7 separate regions of the Homo sapiens genome follow, and all the other regions are linked to region 1. Evidence: promoter capture Hi-C in 16 types of primary human blood cells and fetal thymus (Javierre and others, 2016). All regions are on one chromosome and are shown on one strand. Each heading gives the region's core, a stretch centred on a gene start or on the middle of the fragment in contact. The rest is flanking DNA. Distances are from core to core; before and after follow the strand shown.

Region 1 (2,700 bases), core at 126-2,625:
CCCAGTGGTTGCCTCCAATCTTAGGGAGAATTGAGAAAGAGCGGGTACCACAGCGGCCTGGATCCCCAGAACCTCTCCTTAATAGACCTGGCATTACAGAGGTTTCCCTAAAACAGATTCCAGAAGACAGAGCCACAATGGACTGGGACAAAGCGAAAAAAAGAGTAAGAAGCAAGGAAGGAAGAATATCGGTTCTGAGAAGAGTTAGGGGCCTGCTTTCAGATTATTTACCTGTCACCATATCGTACTTCTCATTCCTTCTTCCCTTGCCTTTGGTCCCAGGGCCTCCAGTCACCTTCTCATCAAACTCTACACAGGGCAGAGCTGGGTTCTGGGTCTCCAGATAGTCTACCTCCCGCTCCAGACGATCCACTCTCCCGGAGATGGTGTCGGCCTCAGTTCTGAGTGCCTCCCGCTCCTTCTCTGCCACCTCCAGCAGTGGCAGCATCTTGTTCTTGAAGTCCCGCAGCTCAGCAGCATGCCGACTACTCTGGTCCTGGCACTGGGCCAGCCGTTCCTGAAGGGATGGGGGATCAGGAGGGAGGCTGCAGGGTTACAACTCCCAGGCAGGGAGAGGCCCAACTCGGGAGTCAGGAATGGGAAAAAAAGAGCAAACTCAGCCAGGCTTCAATATCCCCTTCCACTCCTGCAGAAAAGGAAACCAGATGTGCAGAGGTGCTAAATGTGCAAAGAGCCTAGCTGAGATTCACCTAGGCCCCTACCCCGACTCCATGTCCTCCAGCCTGTGTTCTCTGTGAGCAGTGCCACTGAGCCATCTGAGCCTCTAGGCAGGTCTAAGCGCATGAAGGTGTGAAGAGGTCTCTGCTCCCTTAGCAATTATCCTCTCGGACACTAAAATGCTACGGATCTCAACCTGTTAAAAAGACAGGAAGTTATAGATTCCCCGGGAACCTCCAACTTCAACAGAATCATCACCTTCTCTGGAGATGCAGCCCCACAATTTTGGCTCTCGTTTCCACTCTGCCCCCTTATTCTATCTAATCCCAGAGGTAAAACGCAAAAGTCGATTTGCTTTGGAATTGTTCTATGTGGGGTAAGAGGAGGGCTTGTCATTCCGAAGGTCCTCTTATTAAGAGAGAATTTTCTGTAGACTCTAACAGAGCCCTTTCTTGTTATCCCCAGATCCCTAACAAACTGGTTGAACCAATAGCCCTGGAATCCTTCTAGGCGGGGCTAGAAGAGAAAGGGGTCCCTCACCTCTAAAGCAGCTAGTCGGCGTTCCATGTACTCCACAAGGTGGTGCTGCTGTCCTTGGAGGGGTCCCGACCATGACAAAAGGAACAAGATGAGGAGAGGGGTGCTGGGCCCCATGGCAGCCTGGAGAGTGGTGCCAGAGTAGAAGGAACGTACAGTCAGCCTCTTCCCCTCAAGCCCGAGGGTTAGCTTTGGAGGCGGGGTGGGGGCGGTGCCTTCTCTCCTGATCTCTGGGTCTCTCTCACTACTCTGGAATGCTTTCAGTTCTCTTTACAACCCCCACCCCCTCCTTTCCGCCAGGATTGATCAAACACAGATGGCCCCATTGCACAGCAGCCAGAAGCCTTAACCACCTCCCGCCTAGGCTGTAGGGTCCTCTGGAGGGGAAAGAGATGGAAACCCGAAAGCAGAGGCCTTCTAGGCAGTCAAGCAGGGAAGCTAGCTGCAGAAAGCAGAGACCCCAGAGAAAACTCAGCAAACGCCATTCCTGTTTTAGGAAAGTTTCACCAGTGCTGACTTAAGAAACTGACATTTTTCATTAATCTTTCCCTTTCCCTGCAATAGAGTGGGTTTTCAGCCTTGTTCAGTAGAAGCTGGGAGCTGGGGAGGTGAGGCTTGAAGGGAGGAAGCAGGAAAACAATGGCCCAAGTGGTCAAGCCCAACTTATTCTAAAGCTCATTGGCGCCACCTTGTGCTAAGCAGCTGGTGTCATCTCTCATGATAATACAGAAACTAAGGCTTAGACTTCACCCCATGAGGAAAATTTTCCACAAAAGCCAAATATATTGAATTTACAGGGGTTTTCACCACTGAAATGCATATTTCCCCCAAGACTATCCAATTACTACTTTGGGGGCTATGCAAATATCTGATTTAGCCCAAGGAAGAAAATATAACTGAGATTAAAAAAAAAAAAAAAACAGGTCACTGAGAAGTTAGTAAATTAACTCGATCGTCTGGAAGTTAAGGCTGACAGCAGCGCTGTTTTACATGGCTTTCCTTTGCTTGAAAGAGGCCAGATATAGTCTCTCACCAAAACTGAGGAGTGTTCAGTGAGTTCACACTAATTTACTATACATTCATGTATTGCGGGGGGGCGGAATCTGATATATATATATATGTTGTTGCAGTCTAGATCAATGTATTCTGACTTCCTTACCACTGGGAGAAAAGACTATTGGTTATTTCTCTTGGTTGTGGTCCAAAAGGGTATTTCTGAGTGTTTCTCATTTCTATATCCCAACTAAGGCTGCAGGAGCCCAAAATGAATTAATGGCCACCATAAGGTAGACTTGGGCCATAAGGTAGACACACGGGCCGAAAAAAAAAATCAAATAGAGCATTTACTCAGAGACCTGCAGTCATTAATCGAAACAAACCCCTATTTCTTTATCGGGAGAAATTCTATTCACTTTAGAATCAACAGAATCTGATGAGAGGTTCCTTCTGTAAAAAGGACCATGACTCTAACAGTACAGTTTGAAA
Region 2 (2,700 bases), core at 1-2,500, 360 kb before region 1:
TGGTATCCTCCCCACCTCCTTTAAGGGCATGTCCTGGAGATGACCCATGCTGTGGTTTGAGTGATGGTGTCCCCTCCAACATTTACATATTGAAACTTAATCCTCATAGTGGCAGTATTAAGAGGTGGGGCCTTTTGGGAGATGCTTAGATCATGAGGGCTTCTCCCTTGTGAATAGGAATAAAGCCTTCATAAAAGAGCCTTCACAGAGAGTCTGGCCCTTTTTTGCCCTTCTGTCATGTGAGGACATAGCATTTTTCACCTCTGGAGGATGCTGCAACAAGGCACCATCTTGGAAGCAGAGAGCAGCCCTCACTGACAGCAAACCTACTGGTGCCTTGATCTTGAACTTCCCAGCCTCCAGAACTGTGATAAATAAATTCCTGTTCTTCACAAGTTACCCGGTCTCAGGTATTTTGTTATAGCAGCACAATGGATGAAGATAGCCCACCTTTCTTCTTTCACTTCATTGGCCAGAGCTGGTTATATAACCATATCAGCTGAAAGGAGGCTGGGTTAGAGAGAACAAGAGAGTGGATATTGATGGAGAACTTCAATTTCTACCCCAGACTTCATCAGTTAGCCCCCATCAAGTCAGGTTGGATCATTTTTATTACCATTCCAGCCCTCTTGTCTATTATAACTACCATGATTATCTTGTCTTTTGTAGTTAAGTGCCTGAAATCAGCTTCTGCTATTCTGGTATCTTTCCTTTTCCATTAAAATCAGGGATCCCATTTCAACTGCTTACAATTGCATCTTTAGTTTACGGAAATCAGTCACAAGACTGCTTCTCAGAGATAGAGGTGCTCCCTCACCAATCTGGGCCCTCTTCTGGGCCCTCTTGAGAGAGAATTAGCAGATGAATGGGTAGGTGACACATGATAAATCCTCTCCAGCACTTCTATATTCCGAAATTTTTGGATTATTTCTTCCATTGTTTCATGGAATTTCATTTCACATGAGCCACTGTTGAGCCCACATTTCAAAACAACTGACAGGCAGCAATTAGGGCCACTTGCAATGGCTGGAGATAGCACACTGTCTCCTGATTTCTGGTGAGCATACTCCTGATTAATTTCAGGCTGATTTAAAATAATGCACGGTGCTGGACACTGTGGTGCACCACTGTATCCCCTCTCAGAAATGAAGGACTTACTCTCCCAGCTGCTGGGAGTGGGCCCTCAGCCAGCAGCTCACTCTGGGGATGCCTTGAGTGAAGAAATGTCCCTAGCCCAAGGTCATGTCCCCATCATGAAGCAGCCACATCCAACGACTGGTCAAAGTTGGGTTAACAAAGGCTGGCTCCTTGGTTCCAACTCAGAAGAGCTCTAAATGACCATCTAGCTCCAGAGCTATGCTAATTGTGCGCACAGCACAACTGCTTCCTTGCCCAAGGCTGCTTCTGTCCCTTCTGCTCCACAGGGGTGGTCTCAAGCTCACTTCCTGATAAAGGTCTTGCTTGCTAATCTCCACCTTAGAATCTGCTTATCTGAGTCTTTTGGTGGGGATTTAACTTTTTAAGTAATCAAAAGCTCCACTTCCTGCTTCCAGGTCATGCGAGAGTCTGACTCTATTTACAGACTTATGAGCCATGAGTGACGGCGTGGAGGAAAGAGGCATGAGCAGAGCTGGCTTCTTTCTGTGAGGAAGTCTGTGCACAGAGTTAGAGCATCTTCAAACTACGCAGGAGCAGCCTCATCAGACAAGGGAGGGACATGCCTTTTAGCTGGCAAGAGAGACCCGGAGGGTTCCATGTTTGGTGTTCTATGAGTCTCCGAGATCTTCCCAAATGTCCTTATTACAATTTTGGGGGTCGCTGTCTTTTTTTGGGGCGGGGACATGGTTTTTCTCTGTCGTCCAGGATGGAGTGCAGTGGTGCAGTCTTGGCTCACTGCAGCCTCAACCTCCCAGGCTAAGTGATCTTCCCACTTCAGCTTTCTGAATAGCTGAGACTACAGGTATGCAACACCATGCTCAGTTAATTTTTTTTGTAGAGATGAGGTCTCAGTATATTGTCCAGGCTAGTCTTAAACTCCTGAGCTCAAGTGATCCTCCTGCCTTGACTTCCCAAAGTGTAGGATTATAGGCGTGAGCCATCGTGCCCCATGTAGGGGCCACAGTCCTTTCTGAACAATGCCCTATCCTTTATATAACATACCTAGGGAGTTTTGATATAGAAGTTAAGAAATTACTTAGGCAGATAGTGAGGGTAGGGAAGTCCTCAGTAAGATTTTCCTTTTAATGAAAAGCAGCCCCAAATCATTTTCCCTTCTAACAAAGAGCAGCCTGTAAAATTGAGCTGATAGATACCGGCAGTTGTGCCAATCATGTTCAAAATGGTGGCCCCATCTTCCCTTCTCTTTATCAGCCACGTGTACAGTAAAAAGGAGACAAGGTGGCACGGGTCAGCAGGAGAGTTCATTTACATAATAAGATTAGGGCAGGGTAGCCAGCCTTCCCCGGGGCTGTGTAAACATCATACCTGATCCAACCAATCTGTGAGCCCTACGTAAATCAGGCGACATCTCCTCAAGCTGGACTATAAAACCCAGTGCCTCCTCCACCAGCTGGTCATTTTCTGTTGGGAGACCCCTCTCTAGAGAGAGAGCTGTTTCTATTTCTCTTCTCTTCTCTCTATTAAATCTCTGCTCCTAAACTCCTCGTGTGTCTCCCTGTCCTAAATTTTCCCGGCGCGAGA
Region 3 (2,904 bases), core at 72-2,571, 420 kb before region 1:
AAGTAAATCCTGAAAATGAGCCAATCCCCACTTGAATGGTTACTGGAGTAAACCCACCTTTACCACCCCAATTACAGCACCCGAGGCCGATAAACCAACTTGGCTCTGGTTCATTTTTCTTTTCTTCATTTGTGATGCTCAGATTCAAAATGTGTGTTCTACACTGTTACAGGCTTCTCTTTTGTTTGATTAAAGATTTTAGTCCTACTTTTGTATGGACACATTAGAATATTCAGAGACCAAAATAGAAGAATTTGCTGTTAGATATTTTTCAGAAGTCAGCAGATTTGTGGCAAATCATTTATTTGCCTTTTTAAAAATTCATTTAAGCAGTTCAGAGAGTAGACTACTCAGAAAATTATTTCACGTAATTGTCTAAGAGGTCAATATTTTTTAATGCATATTGAATCAAATAAAGTGCTCTAAAGAAATTATTATACAAATTCCTTTGGGTTGTTTTTCTTTTCTTAACAAGGGGTGGGGGTAAACAGGAATATGATTCAGGCTTTCTGGTTGTGTATTTAAAGAGTATTGATTTTATTATTACTATTGATTTACTTTATTCCTGGCTTCCTTTTCACTTTTCTTTCAATTTTTAAAAAATAATTTAAGCCGTTGAAAATATACCAAACTGTTGAAACATTTTACTCAAATTTTAAATTCCTAAAAATGTTTTTTAATAAGAGGGAGAAAATTATTTAAAAATACTTATGCCTATGCCAATTTCCCTCTTTTTTCACAAAATCCATGATTTCAGTTTGTAAGTAGACATATATCTAAGGGCACATTTTTGGAAAGTGAGGAATAGCAGCAGTATAACTTCATTTTGTCAGGCCTTTGAGTTCTAATATTTTGTATTGCTCTTCAAATGGATCCTTTTAAAAAAATTGTAGATAATGAGTCATAAATAGATTCTGCCAACTGAGGGGAGAAACATTTTAAGTAAATATTTTTCAGTATTTGGGGCCTTAAAAAATAATTGTGTTTCCTTAAAATTACATGTTAGATAGAGTTTTTAGGTTTTTTTGGTTTTAAGATTGGTTAAAGCAATTTAAAAGCCACTTTTTTGTCAACATTTAATAGCCTCCACTTCTGTTAAGATAATGTATACTGCTGAGGAATTACTATTAATAGCTATCAACATACCACCATTAAATTAAGGTATTCACTTTAGATTTTTTATTAAAGCTTTTTTCTTGCACACTGATCGTTGTGTTTCTAAGCTGATTTTTTCAGCTCTAATATACCTATGGTTAAAAAGTATAAAAACTTAAATTGATATTTAGATATATGTTTTCCTATTAGTTTATGTTTTAAAAAGACAAAATTGTATCTGTCAGTCCCTGAAGGCAGTTTGTTTTTATACTCTCTCACATTTGTATTTGTTTTTTAAATGGCAGTATTTTAGAAGATTTGGAGAAAAGTCCACATAATAATGTTTTCTTAAAAGCTTTTAAAGTTTTTGCTGTACTTCAATTTACTTCTTCCATCAGAAAACTAAGAACAAAGTGTTGCTCAGTCTGTTCCGCTGACCTAAATTTGTGTTTTCAGCACTTGGCTCAGCCAATTCACTGAGTGAAGGAATTGCTTTATGAGGCAAAGCATGTGAAAGTTCTAAAGTATGGTTAGATTGTAGGTCGTGCTCTATATGGAAACATCAAACCATTACTACAGAGAAATGATAAGGCATTGGATCCACTATTGAAATTATTATTTTTGGATCAACAAGTTGGTACTTTCTGACTTCTGTATCTTAACATAAGGGAATTTTAGGTAATGCTAAGTCAGTTGTCTCATTTTTTGTGATAAGTTTTGGAATTTTTAGTTAATTGAAATAAATAATGCTTTTAAATAGAAGTAAAAGGTTTATAAGTGTGCAAATTGTAGATTTATCAATTACCTCAGCAGGTATCCTGCCATGTAATTATTAGTGATTAGTGTTAATAAGATAATAGATTCAGGTCTTCCAACTATGCCCTTGGATTGTGGCCTACTGTATGTTATTAAATGGTCTCTTACTATCCAAAATGGGAGTAGATGCTGTGGCCCCGTCTCCCTTGGCTTTTACGTCCCATATCCACCCCCATTCATGTACAACATGTGAAATATAAAAATCTCATTTCTTGTCAAAATCAGCACTGCTTATTTGCATACTCAGCATCGGATCAGTGAGTAGTTTTATAAAAAATCCACGCACCCAACTCCCTTAGTTAAAACAGATTCTTAATTCATACCATGAATTCTTAATTTCTGTACCATCTATGTTAATGATCTGCTGAAGGTGACTCAAGATTTTCAAGGTGTAATACAGTTTGATCATGTACCGGACCTGGATATTTAATTTTTTTTCCCTCACAGTTAATCTCCTCCTTGATAAAGCAATAACACTGCTTTGAGTCTGTTGCCTAATAGCATGTCAGAATCCTCTCCTGGATGGTGATTTTATAGGAAAGTTTGTATGCATATCACCCAGTCTATCTTTTAAAAATTAAGAAATTTAAATGTATGCTGGAAGTAATGACACTATATTGTGGCATTTTATTTTAAAAATTGGGGAAAGTTGCATATTTTTTTAAAAGTAAGTGTTTGAGTAAAAAAATTGAAGGTACTTTTTTAAGGAAAAAAATTTATATGCCACAGTTTACATAGACATTTCAGATTCAACACGTACTCTTGAATATAATGGTTTCTTTTACTTGGTCAAAATGCATGTATAGCATTTCTTTCATCTTAGTTCCTTGTGTTTGCCTATGTGGTCCTTTATATATTTTTTATTGTATCGAAGAAACAAAACTATCTTCAAAAATAAGTTAATTTGGATATATTTGTCATATCAAACTACAAAGTGTACAAAGTTAAGTTTAGCCCTTTTCTAGAAAGTGATCTTTAAAATTAAAAATGCTC
Region 4 (2,700 bases), core at 104-2,603, 380 kb before region 1:
GCGTGGTGGCTCACACCTGTAATCCCAGCACTTTGGGAGGCTGAAGTGGGCGGATCACTTGAGGTCAGGAGTTCGAGACCAGCCTGGCCTACATGGTGAGACCCCCGTCTCTACTAAAAATACAAAAATTAGCCGGGCCTGGTATTGTGTGCCTGTAATCCCAGCTACTTGGGAGGCTGAGGCAGAAGAATTGCTTGAACCTGGGAGACAGAGGTTGCAGTGAGCTGAGATCGCACCACTGCACTCCAGCCTGGATGACAGAGGGAGACTTCGTCTCAAAAAAAAAAAAAAAAAAAAAAAGGCATGCCTTAAAAAAATACTGAATAGAATGCATTCAGGTTATAAATTCTGTTCAGAATACCTGAATAGAATGCATTCAGGTTATAAAATCTTAAAGAAACACAAAGAACCGATTAAGTCACAATGGTGGTTACTTTTGGAGGAAGGGAGTGGGCTGTGATAGGAACATGTCAGAAGGTGGGACTTCTGGGGTGGCCAGCAGAGTTTTATTTCTTGGTCCAATTAATAGTTATGTGGGTGTCAACCCAATCAAAATTCACACAACTACATTTGTATGATTTTTCTGTATCTGCACTTTATTTTACAATTAAAAGTTTAAAATGAATTTTTGTTTTTATTTTTATTTTGAGACAGAGTCTTACTCTGTCATCCAGACTGGAGTGCAGTGGCATGATCTCAGCTCACTGCAACCTCCACCTCCCAGGTTCAAGTGATCCTCAAACCTCAGCCTCCCCAGTAGCTGAGATTACAGGTGCACACCACCATGCCCAGCTAATTTTTACATATTTTGATAGAGATGGATTTTTGCCATGTTGGCCATGGTGGTCTTGAACTCCTGACCCAGGTGATCTGCCCACTTCAGTCTCCCAAAGTGCTGGGATTGCAGGCGTGAGCCACGTGCCTGGCCTAAAATGAATTTTTTTTTTTTTTTGAGATGGAGTCTCGCTCTGTCGCCCAGGCTGGAGTGCAGTGGCACGATCTCAGCTCACTGCAATCTCCGCCTCCCAGATTCACACCATTTTCCTGCCTCAGCCTCCCAAGTAGCTGTGACTACAGGTGCACACCACCACGCCTGGCTAATTTTTTGTATTTTTAGTAGAGACGGGGTTTCACCATGTTAGCCAGGATGGTCTCGATCTCCTGACCTCGTGATCTACCTGCCTCGGCCTCCCAAAGTGCTGGGATTACAGGCATGAGCCACCGCACCTGGCCCTAAAATGAATTTTTTAAAAAAGATTTTTCTCTTCTTTTCTTTCTTTCTTTCTTTCTCTCTTTTTTTTTTTTTTTAATTTGTTGAGACGGTCTCACTCTGTCACCCAGGCTGGAGTGCAGTGGCACGATCTAGGCTCACTGCAACCTCTGCCTCCCGGGTTCAAGTGATTCTCCTGCCTCAGCCTCCCAAGTAGCTGGGAGTACACGCAGCTACCACGCCCAGCTAATATTTGTATTTTTAGTAGAGACAGGGTTTCACCATGTTGGCCAGGCTGGTCTCAAACTCCTGGCCTCAAGTGATCCACCCGTCTCAGCCTCCTAAGTGCTGCGATTACAGGCGTGAGCCACTGCACCGGGCCTAAAACAAGATTTTATGGACAACTTTATGCCAGTAAATTGGAAAATTTAGACGAAATCAACAAATTTCTAGAAAAATTAAAACTGATGCAAATTTTTATAACGTTTGAGAAATGCATCTATAGTTAACCTTTCATTAAAGAAAACTCCACAGATAAATGGCTTTCTAAACTAATTCTAGGCCAGACATGGTGGCTTACGCCTGCAATCCCAGCACTTTGGGAGGCCGAGGTGGGCAGATCACCTGAGATCGGGGGTTTGAGACTGGCCTGGCCAACATGGTGAAACCCCATCTCTACTAAAAATGCAAAAATTAGCCAGGCGTGGTGGCAGGCACCTATCATCCTAGCTACTCAGGAGGCTGAGACAGGAGAATCGCTTGAACCTGGGAGGCAGAGTTTGCAGTGAGCAGAGATCGCGCCCTTGCACTCCCACCTGGGTGACAGAGTCTCAAAAACTCTGTCTCAAAAACAAACAAACAAAAAACCAAAAAAACTAATTCTACGTATATGAGGAGGAAATAATACTTATTTTGCCCAATCCCTTCCAAAGGAAGTGAAAGAGGGAGTACTTACCAAATCATTTTCTATTCCCCCTTTTTCAAGGCAAGAAAACCCAACTGATGAAGTGTCTTAAACCTTTCATGCTTTGCTGGTTCCATAGACTCATGGACTTTTCATACACAATCTCTCCATTCATCAGACCTCATCCTTTATTGCCTCATCACATTCTGTTCCCATTCTTCCACTTCCATATTCATAACCTTTTTGCCATGTTTCTTTTCTCTCAAATCAAACCAGACCAGATGTTTCAGTCAGCGCATAACTATTCGCATCCAAATTTGTACAAGAGGTCAGCTAACTGCTGAGTCTCAGTCCTACAGGACACCTACCCAATTTTAGTGGGGATGTACATAGTGGAGGTCAGAGGCTACCCATCATGACTGAAAGGCTGATTCCTTTTCAATTCACCAACAAACTGCATTTATTTATTTATTTTTTTATATTGAGACAAGTTCTCACTCTGTTGCCCAGGCTGGAGTGCAGTGGCGTGATCATGGCTCACTGCAGCCTCAACCTCATGGGCTCAATGCATCCTCCCACCTCAGAC
Region 5 (2,700 bases), core at 96-2,595, 340 kb before region 1:
TTTGTGAGAGTAAGACCTCCCTCCTTATAATGGTCATTTCTGTGTCTGTATGTCTTACCATATCTGATTAAGACAAATTTAGGTACATTTAGAACAGGGCTGAATTAAAAAAAAAAGCAGAGAGGAGTGTTGCTTTGACCATTGTGAAAATCGGTCATGAACTGAGAAGGACGAGAAACCCAATCTCTGCACCTAAGAACCAAACTAGAACAACTTCACTACAGAAACCATCCCTGCCTGCTCCTGAATGCAGGCTCTAATCTATTCTCTGCAATGTCTTGTCCTCATATCTTGAAGCAGATTGTCCAGAGTTCATTAGATAAACCAGTGGTCCAGCCACATTCTCAGAACACTAAGGCTAGGTTAGGTTAAATAAATCATGCAAGGTCATTTATTGCAGGGCTTCTCATAGCCTAACTGCATTGTGCATCTCCAAGAGGACCACATAATATGAAGCATTTCTGAAACATGTGTATCTTGGAATGCTTTATTTTCATGTAAATCTAGCATTCCATGAATCACACTTTGGGGAATGCTGTGGTAGATGAGGTTACACTGATGCATGGGATGAGTGATAAGATGTTAGATCATACTGTAGAGACTTCAGGGATTCTTCTGCCCTGCCCCAAATTTTCATTAAGGGAGGTGTTATTATCTCCATTTCTGTAGTTAAATGACACATCTTAAAAATATGTATTTAAAAGACACATGTATTTAAAAGACACGTTTTTAGATATGTATTAAAAAGACACATATAAGAACTGAAAGACCAAATTAAGATCTTGGTCTTCTATCATGTAGGGCAGTGTTGTATGACATGGTGATATTTTCTCTAAATGCTTTAATGAGCATTGTGAAAACAGTATTAACACCACTCTATTAACTCTAGTATATAATCTGTAGCATTGCCTTTCATGGTATATTTGTGGCAAAAGTTTCTGAAGTTTTGATAAAATAAATACCAGCTGGTTAGCTTATATGGTTGGGAGTTAGTCTGTTTTTATATAAATTTCTCAAACTACAAGCTCTATCAAAGTTAAATATTTCCTTTTTGGATGCTTTGGTCTGTTATTTCTCTACTGACATTGATCCCCAAATAATATTTTAGAGGTTTACTCTTCCTTTCTCCATTTCTATCTGCTTGGGATGATTCTAAAAGACAAAAAAGCTTAAAATGAATCGCAGTCCTATCCACAGCAAAAAATACTGCTACCTTGAATTTTAAGGAAAAGAAGAAATTATCAAGAAAATCTTATCTGAGTATTCTAAGGATTAATGGAGTTCATAAGTGTAAAATGCTTGGTGCAGACAGTATATATAAATGTCTGCTAAATAAAAATTTAAAAACTAGCTAGACATTGGTGTAGGGATACAAATTTCTTCCTACGTGAATACAAATTCCACAGAGGACTCAGAAAGAATAAGCAGTTTTCTCCTTTTTATAGTAAAGAAAGAAGTAAGAGTCTTTCAATGCTGACTCTTTTTAAGCCAAGAAAACAAGAAAAACAATCTCAAAGCTTTAAATAAAACTAGTTTCCTTGAACAAGACTTGTTATTACTTGGACAGAAAAACCAAATGGCTTTCATTACTCACCAGCAGAGAAACCACACGATTCGAGGGTATAAAATATGTCTATGAATAGTGAGTTGCTGGCTGTCTCTCTTACTTTGAAGATGTTGGCTCAGCTAGCTTTACAAATCACATCTTTTTCTTCCAAAGAACCTATATTTTCTTCATTTGTCAGGAATGACATTGGGTGGAGAGCTTCTGGGATTTACTCTATGAAATCTTGCAAGCTATATCCTAAACTACTCTCTGCAGTGAATTCTAGTCCAAGACTCATCAGTTCTCGAATAATTGTGTGCTTATGGCATAAATAGTAATTGAGAAGGAAGAAAACTCCAGAGGTCATTTTCTATACAAACATAAAGATTTGTGGAATGTCTAAAAGCTGGACTGGGAATATAAAATCATAATATAAATCAGTTATTTTTGCTGTCACCTGGGAACATTTTTGGTCACCATAAGATGTTTAGTGGCAGGTTTTCATAAATAGATGCTGGGAAATCAGGAGGCGGGGTTTGATGAATATTTTATTCTGTGCCCAAAAAAGGTATTTTTAAACCACCAACTCTTTCCGTGAGAAAAAAATTCCACTCTGCCAAAGAGAACATATTTCAGAAAGAATAATTTAGGGAGTCCAGGGACCTCAGAAACCATCAAAAGAGGCAAAACAGAGTTGTATAGTGGCCACAAAATTCCTCATTGCTTTAGAGAGAAAACAGTAAATGCATTTTATAAGGAAAATTAATTTTAAGATGTCAAGTTTTCCCTCAGCACATCTTGCTTATTTTTTCATGTTTAATGTTTTTTGGAGCTCATTCTGCAAAAAAAAAAAAAAAAAAGCTTTTCTTAAGTGCATAATATTTCTAAAACCTTCAAGGAGAGAGGTAAGTCGTTTCTAACTCACGAATCTAGGTCCAACATTCCATTTCTCAAATGATACTACATGTGCTCATAATTTTAAAAAGTTTATTGAACGTGGAAAGTTTGACAGCAGATAAGAAGGTAAGAATATGATAGCTCTTCTTAAACATGAATGAAATATGGCATTAAAAATAGGCATTCTCAATCTTTTTGGAGATGGTACACCCAGTTGGTTGATTTCTCATCTCTGTCTCATGCCTAGCACTTAACTG
Region 6 (2,700 bases), core at 12-2,511, 450 kb before region 1:
AAAAGAAAATAAAAGGCTCCTTAGAGCTTGTAGATTGTACACACACACACACTCCATTGGTGGGTTTTTGTTTTTGGAAATGTTCAGTTGTTTTAGGTTAAACTGGTGATACAGTTGATTTGGAGAAGACTGTTTCTCAGAAATGATAGATGGATGTCTCTTTCAAAGGAAATGTAGTGAGTTGATTCATATGGCAGTCCCATATTTTTATACAGATGTTTTGTGTGTACATTGTATAAGTATTTTTTAAATATATTTTGTACACGTGTTCCAGAATCTGTATACAAAAGTAGGGCAAGAGGTTTACCTGTTACAAGATTGCACGGGGTTGAGGAGATTGATTTCATCTGTAGAAAGTTTTTAAAAAAACAGTATTAAAATCTCTGATAACTTCCCCTTTTAGACACATTTTTCACTGACCTATCTCCATTATTTTTTAATGTACATTTTTTTCTTTCTTCAAAACTGAACATACAGTAGACTTAATTAAATCCAATAGGAGTCTGACTGAGACTAACTACTCTCTAACTACTCTCTGTTTTCAGCATGCTTAGTGATTTCTATCTTCAGCCCAATCATTTTATATTTGAAACCTATATTTCTTATCACTAGTTATTAGTACCTTTATATATTAAAAATATCTTCCACTCACCTTAGTAAGATAAGGACAAAACTCAAAATTTTCAAGTAAGTGCCAAACGATGTACAGAGAAGGAAAAAAACTACATTATTTCTTGGAGTGTATTAAAGTTAACTAAATTCGAACTTGGCAAATGAAAGGCAGTTTAGGAGCTGAAAGCATGGGTTATAGTTTTTACAGAAGTAGAATGTATAAAAATTGAAGCTATGTCTTATGGTTGGTCGTTGACATTTTATATATTTATAGTGGTGGGATTATCCACTTCCTGTTTTGTAAATACCAAAGTATCAGCCACTTCATATTTGCACCTAAAACTTCCATAACTGCTTTGAGTGCTTACACCTACTTATAAAACATCTAAAGCTATTCTTAAAAATGGATTGAAAATGTTTTATGCCCTTTACTGTATACAAAGGGAAACCATATTAAGAGTAATTTTGAAGGGAGTGTATCAGAACCCATGTTTGAAGTGGCTAAGTTATAAATGAAAATAAATGCTTCTATGTTTAACTATTATCCTTTCAAAAGATAATTATTGCTTGTGACATTGTCCTTTTGCACATTGTTCTTGGAAAACGTCAAGGTTAAACAGAACCAATGTGCCACATTTGACACTATCCAGAAGTCACTGGTGTTTGTGCATCACATTCATGTCATAGTTACTTAAGTAGATTGCCATCCAGCTTAATAAACTGTCCTTTATGAGCATAATTTAAAATTACTAAATATTAGTTTCATTATTTGTCTATGTACATAACTTGTTTGGACCAAATTGGTCAGGTCTGCTGAAACATGAGTTGTACATTTTGACAAAGTTTTCATTTTAATTACTCGGTTAAGTGCCCAGTTGGATGAATTTCTGTAACAGTTGATGATTCAGAGACCTAGGATAAGTTGATAACCTAATGATGCATTTCTCTTATTCAGGATAAAAGAAGTAAATGAGACTAACAAACGAGTAGAACAGGAAATTAAAGTGGCCATTTTCACCCTTATCAATGAAATTAATAAGAAAGGAAAATCTCTCTTACAACAGCTAGAGGTATGGTTCAAAGCCAAAATAAAACAAAAACTGCTTCTCTTGCTCTTTAGCTGTTTTTAATGTTTATTGAAAACTATTTTAGATGGATTGGGGGGTATGGAAATAAAGGAAAACGTAAAATAAGGTTTTTAAAATTTACTTTTGGAAGAGACCTTTTCTAGTTAGTTACTTTGCGGCCCAATTTAATAACACTGACTTTAGCTGTATACCTTAGGAAATAGTGATGTCCTCTTAGAAATCAAATAATTGTTACTAAGACTGGGTATGGTGACTCACACCTGTAATCCCAACACTTTGGGAGCCCAAGGCAGACAGATCGCTTGAGCCCCGGGATCCAGCCCAGCCCAGGCAACATGGCGAAACCTGCCTCTACAAAAAATACAAAAATTAGCCAGGGTGGTGGCATGCACCAGTAGTCACAGCTACTCAGGAAACTGAGGTGGGAGGATCGACTGAGCCCGGGAGGTCAAGGCTGCAATGAGCTGTGATTGTGTCCTGCACTCCAGCCTGGGCAACAGAGTGAGACCCTGTCTCCAAAATGAAAAACAGAAAAAGAAAAAAGAAATGTTACTAAAATGTGATGTACGTAAAGGCAAAGTAGTCCCACCACATTTCTTCCCCACCCCCTTAAGATGGGGCCTCAATTTAATTTTACCATATAGATTCATGTTGGGCTTCTGCTTGAGTCATTTGTGTATTTTACCTTATTTTAAAAATATTTCCATAGTTTTGCAGAAAATGCTGCTCTTTTTGAAATTTATAAACCTTAAACTTAGTGAAAATTTTGTGATATTAGGTATTTATATTGCATATTTTGAAGTTTATTTGTAGGTGTAAGTTTCTAGATGAAAATCTAGTCAGTTCATGAAATCTAAATTTTTAATCAAAGTCTCCACTGCCGATTTGATTTATTTTTAGCAAATTTCAAATAGGAGTTTTCTGGGAAATTGAAGTTTCAGAAAGAGAAATGTTTCCTGATTGAAAATTTCATGCTCTGGAAAGTTGAAATTTTGGAAAG
Region 7 (2,800 bases), core at 219-2,718, 430 kb before region 1:
TACAAAGATTCGTACTCAAATGTTTATAGCAGCTTTGTTTGTAATAAGACAAAAACTGGAAACAACCCAAATATCCACCTGCAAATAAATGGATAAACAAATTGTGTGTTCATATAATAGAATAGTAACTAACAGTGAAAAGGAATGAACTGGATCCAACAGCAAGGATAAATCTCAGTTTTACCAAGTGAAAAAAATAGATGAAAAAAGCGTACAGTATATAATTCAAATTATATAAAACTCTGGAAAAAAAAACTAAAGCTGAAGGAAGCAGATGAGTGGTTGGTTGAGGACAGGTTGTTTGAGAGAGGGATTGATTACCATGGGGCATGAGGAATCTTGGGGGTGATAGATATGATCTGTTCACTATTCTTGATTTGGGTTTCCCAGTTGTAGACTATGTGAAAATGTGTTAAACTTTCACATCAGGTACTACACTTTGAATATATTTAGTTTATTGTACATCATTTATACCTTAATGTCATTTGTAAAAAGCTGCATTGAGGCACAATGACTGTATAGTTTTAAACACATATTTCTGTAAGCGAAGTTGGTAGAAGTGTAATTACTGGGCCAAAAGTAATTACACATTTAAATTTCACATAGGTATTGGCAAATTGCTCTACAAAAAATATTGTGCCAGCTTATATATTTGAAAATGCCCATTTTTGCATTGTCTTCCCAATACTAGGTAAATTAATCATTCTTCCATCTTTTCCAGTGATGGATTAAAATGACATTATTGTTAACTTTATTTTCATTTCTTTGATTGGTGAAATTGGTTTTCTTATGTTCGTTGATTATTTTTATTTCTTCTGTAAATTATCTTTGTCTTTTGTGAAATATCTTTGCTCATTTTCCTATTGGACTGTGTTTTTACTTTTAAATCATGAAAATTATTTATATAATAATTATATTTCCATGTACTTATTCAGGGATGCTCAAAAAACATTGCTTTAATGAATAAATGAATTAATGTCTTTCCAGTTAGACTTCTAACTTTATTTATGGTGACTATCCATGTCTAGTGAAACCCACAGGTGAATGCTTCAGTTAGCACCTATCTGTTGGAGGTTATAATGACATCAGGGATGTCCTTTAATGTATTTCCTGTTTGCCTCTTCCTGACCTGTCCATCCTCTACCCTTAGAGTTATCTTTCTAGCAAAAGATACAAATTGCAGGTGAGGAGTATAAAAAGGAGTGGAAATAGGTAACATGGGATTTTCATGTCAGTTTTGAATCATCTTCCCCCTTCTGTTTTTAGGTGGGATGCATCCCCATTTTCATCTCTGGCCCATATTAGGTACTCCCCCCTCATAACAAATCTTCCTGTTGACTTGAGTTGCAGCTAGGGATTCACCTGTAGTCACAGCTTTGCAAGTGCATCCTTGGCCAACAGCTATGACCACAGGGTAACACAACTGCTATTGTCCTTTGATTATCCCTCCAACTAACCTACTGCCTACTCCTACCTTCAGCCCTTCATGTCTCTGGCATGGGTTTTGTTTTGTTTGTAATCCCAGTACTTTGGGAGACTAAGGTGTGCAGATTGCTTGAGCTCAGGAGTTGGAGACCAATCTGGGCAATGTAGCAAAATCCCATCTCTATAAAAAAAAAACACAAAAATTAGCCAGGCGTTGTGGCGCATGCCTGTAGTCCTAGCTATTCAGGAGGCTGAAATGGAGGGCATGGCTTGAGCCTGGGAGGTGGAGGTTGCAGTGAGTCAAGATGATGCCACTGCTCTTCAGTCTGGACAGCAGAGCCAGACCCTGTCTCAAAAATAAATAAAAGAAGAATATGACCATTTCTTTTATGAAATAGTATAAGATTTAAGGTAATATTCATACTTAAATAATTTTTTTTACTCTTTCTTACACATTTTGTCATTTAATCATCGGAGTTCTGCAATATAGGTGGCATGTTTTAAGGATAGGAAACTGACGTTCAGGTTGAGAACCAGCCCAGAATCATAGTTATGGGTCTTCTGGCTTTATCGTACTGCCTCTAAGTAAGGGAAGGGCTCATATGTACTGTTAACTGTGCCCTTTTTTTTTTGTAGTAAGGGGCCTTGTGTGTCAAGCTAAGGGCTTTCTGTGGGCTATAAGAATTTTTCAGAGTTTCAGAGCTGGGTACTAACATAATTACATTTCTATTTAAGTGAATGATTGTGGACACTGAAATGGAGGGATACTGGGGACAAGAATACTGATAAATAGGTCCTGCAGCAATTTTGAGAAACAGCAGAAGTGTCAGAGCATGTCAGCTATTTTCATAATAGAACATATAGGATTTGTTTTGCTCTGAGCACCTAGTTGTTTGCTGAATAATACAGTTTTATCTAAATAAACTTTATACTGTGTGGGCCCTCAGTGGACCCTAAGGAAGCAATAATAAGGCTCAGCTTGATATTGGATAATCTGTTAGTTTATTAATAAACTGAGTATAAGCAGTGACATAAAATTAATAACTTCTCTGCTTTAATCAAAGCAAATTTGTCTTTATCTTCTTTCTCTTCAGTTGGAAGATGCTGGCTCAAGTAGTTTAGATAATCTACTAAGTAGATACATCTCAGGCAGTCACCTACCCCCACAGCCTACAAGCACCATGAATCCTTCTCCAGGTCCCTCTGCCCTTTCTCCGGGATCATCAGGTAAAGCAAACGGGTATTACCTTATTTTTTAACACCTTAAAAAAACAGTGTCAGTATCTGTCTTAGTCAGAATTCTCCAGAAAAACAGAATAAGTAGGAGGTCTACTTGAAGAGAGAAAGGGAGATTGAGAGAGATTTATTTTAAGGA

Evidence for each region. The method cuts DNA at HindIII sites, captures the fragments that hold promoters and counts their contacts. A CHiCAGO score of 5 or more calls a contact.
Region 2: a fragment that was not itself captured here is called in contact with the fragment with the promoter of OLFML3 in region 1 in 9 of 17 cell types (M1 macrophages, megakaryocytes, M0 macrophages and 6 more); the score reaches 18.7 in M1 macrophages.
Region 3: a contact is called between a fragment that was not itself captured here and the fragment with the promoter of OLFML3 in region 1, in 1 of 17 cell types (M1 macrophages). The highest score is 6.1, in M1 macrophages.
Region 4: a contact is called between a fragment that was not itself captured here and the fragment with the promoter of OLFML3 in region 1, in 4 of 17 cell types (M1 macrophages, M2 macrophages, megakaryocytes and 1 more). The highest score is 10.5, in M1 macrophages.
Region 5: a fragment that was not itself captured here is called in contact with the fragment with the promoter of OLFML3 in region 1 in 4 of 17 cell types (M1 macrophages, M0 macrophages, M2 macrophages and 1 more); the score reaches 7.6 in M1 macrophages.
Region 6: a fragment that was not itself captured here is called in contact with the fragment with the promoter of OLFML3 in region 1 in 3 of 17 cell types (total CD8 T cells, megakaryocytes and naive CD8 T cells); the score reaches 9.0 in total CD8 T cells.
Region 7: a fragment that was not itself captured here is called in contact with the fragment with the promoter of OLFML3 in region 1 in 1 of 17 cell types (megakaryocytes); the score reaches 5.1 in megakaryocytes.

What each region holds. Positions count from the first base shown.
Region 1 is chr1:113,978,149-113,980,848 of GRCh38, reverse strand. OLFML3 (olfactomedin like 3) reads right to left here and starts at 1,375. Exons shown (of 3, transcript NM_020190.5): 1 at 1,219-1,375; 2 at 232-517. The coding sequence starts at 1,332. RefSeq lists an enhancer at 1,298-2,131. The HindIII fragment of the contact is 3,076 bases long and covers 1-2,700 here.
Region 2 is chr1:114,338,462-114,341,161 of GRCh38, reverse strand. No RefSeq gene overlaps it. Among named protein-coding and RNA genes, the nearest start is that of TRIM33, 170 kb to the left of the region's middle. The HindIII fragment of the contact is 3,280 bases long and covers 1-2,700 here.
Region 3 is chr1:114,393,452-114,396,355 of GRCh38, reverse strand. TRIM33 (tripartite motif containing 33) reads left to right here. Exons shown (of 20, transcript NM_015906.4): 20 at 1-2,904. Among named protein-coding and RNA genes, the nearest start is that of TRIM33, 120 kb to the left of the region's middle. The HindIII fragment of the contact is 262 bases long and covers 1,191-1,452 here.
Region 4 is chr1:114,354,940-114,357,639 of GRCh38, reverse strand. It overlaps the pseudogene LOC100421116. Among named protein-coding and RNA genes, the nearest start is that of TRIM33, 150 kb to the left of the region's middle. The HindIII fragment of the contact is 5,260 bases long and covers 1-2,700 here.
Region 5 is chr1:114,318,587-114,321,286 of GRCh38, reverse strand. No RefSeq gene overlaps it. Among named protein-coding and RNA genes, the nearest start is that of SYT6, 170 kb to the right of the region's middle. The HindIII fragment of the contact is 349 bases long and covers 1,171-1,519 here.
Region 6 is chr1:114,429,780-114,432,479 of GRCh38, reverse strand. It overlaps TRIM33 (tripartite motif containing 33), which reads left to right. Exons shown (of 20, transcript NM_015906.4): 6 at 1,568-1,682. Among named protein-coding and RNA genes, the nearest start is that of TRIM33, 80 kb to the left of the region's middle. The HindIII fragment of the contact is 4,986 bases long and covers 1-2,700 here.
Region 7 is chr1:114,410,036-114,412,835 of GRCh38, reverse strand. It overlaps TRIM33 (tripartite motif containing 33), which reads left to right. Exons shown (of 20, transcript NM_015906.4): 12 at 2,520-2,652. Among named protein-coding and RNA genes, the nearest start is that of TRIM33, 100 kb to the left of the region's middle. The HindIII fragment of the contact is 6,971 bases long and covers 1-2,800 here.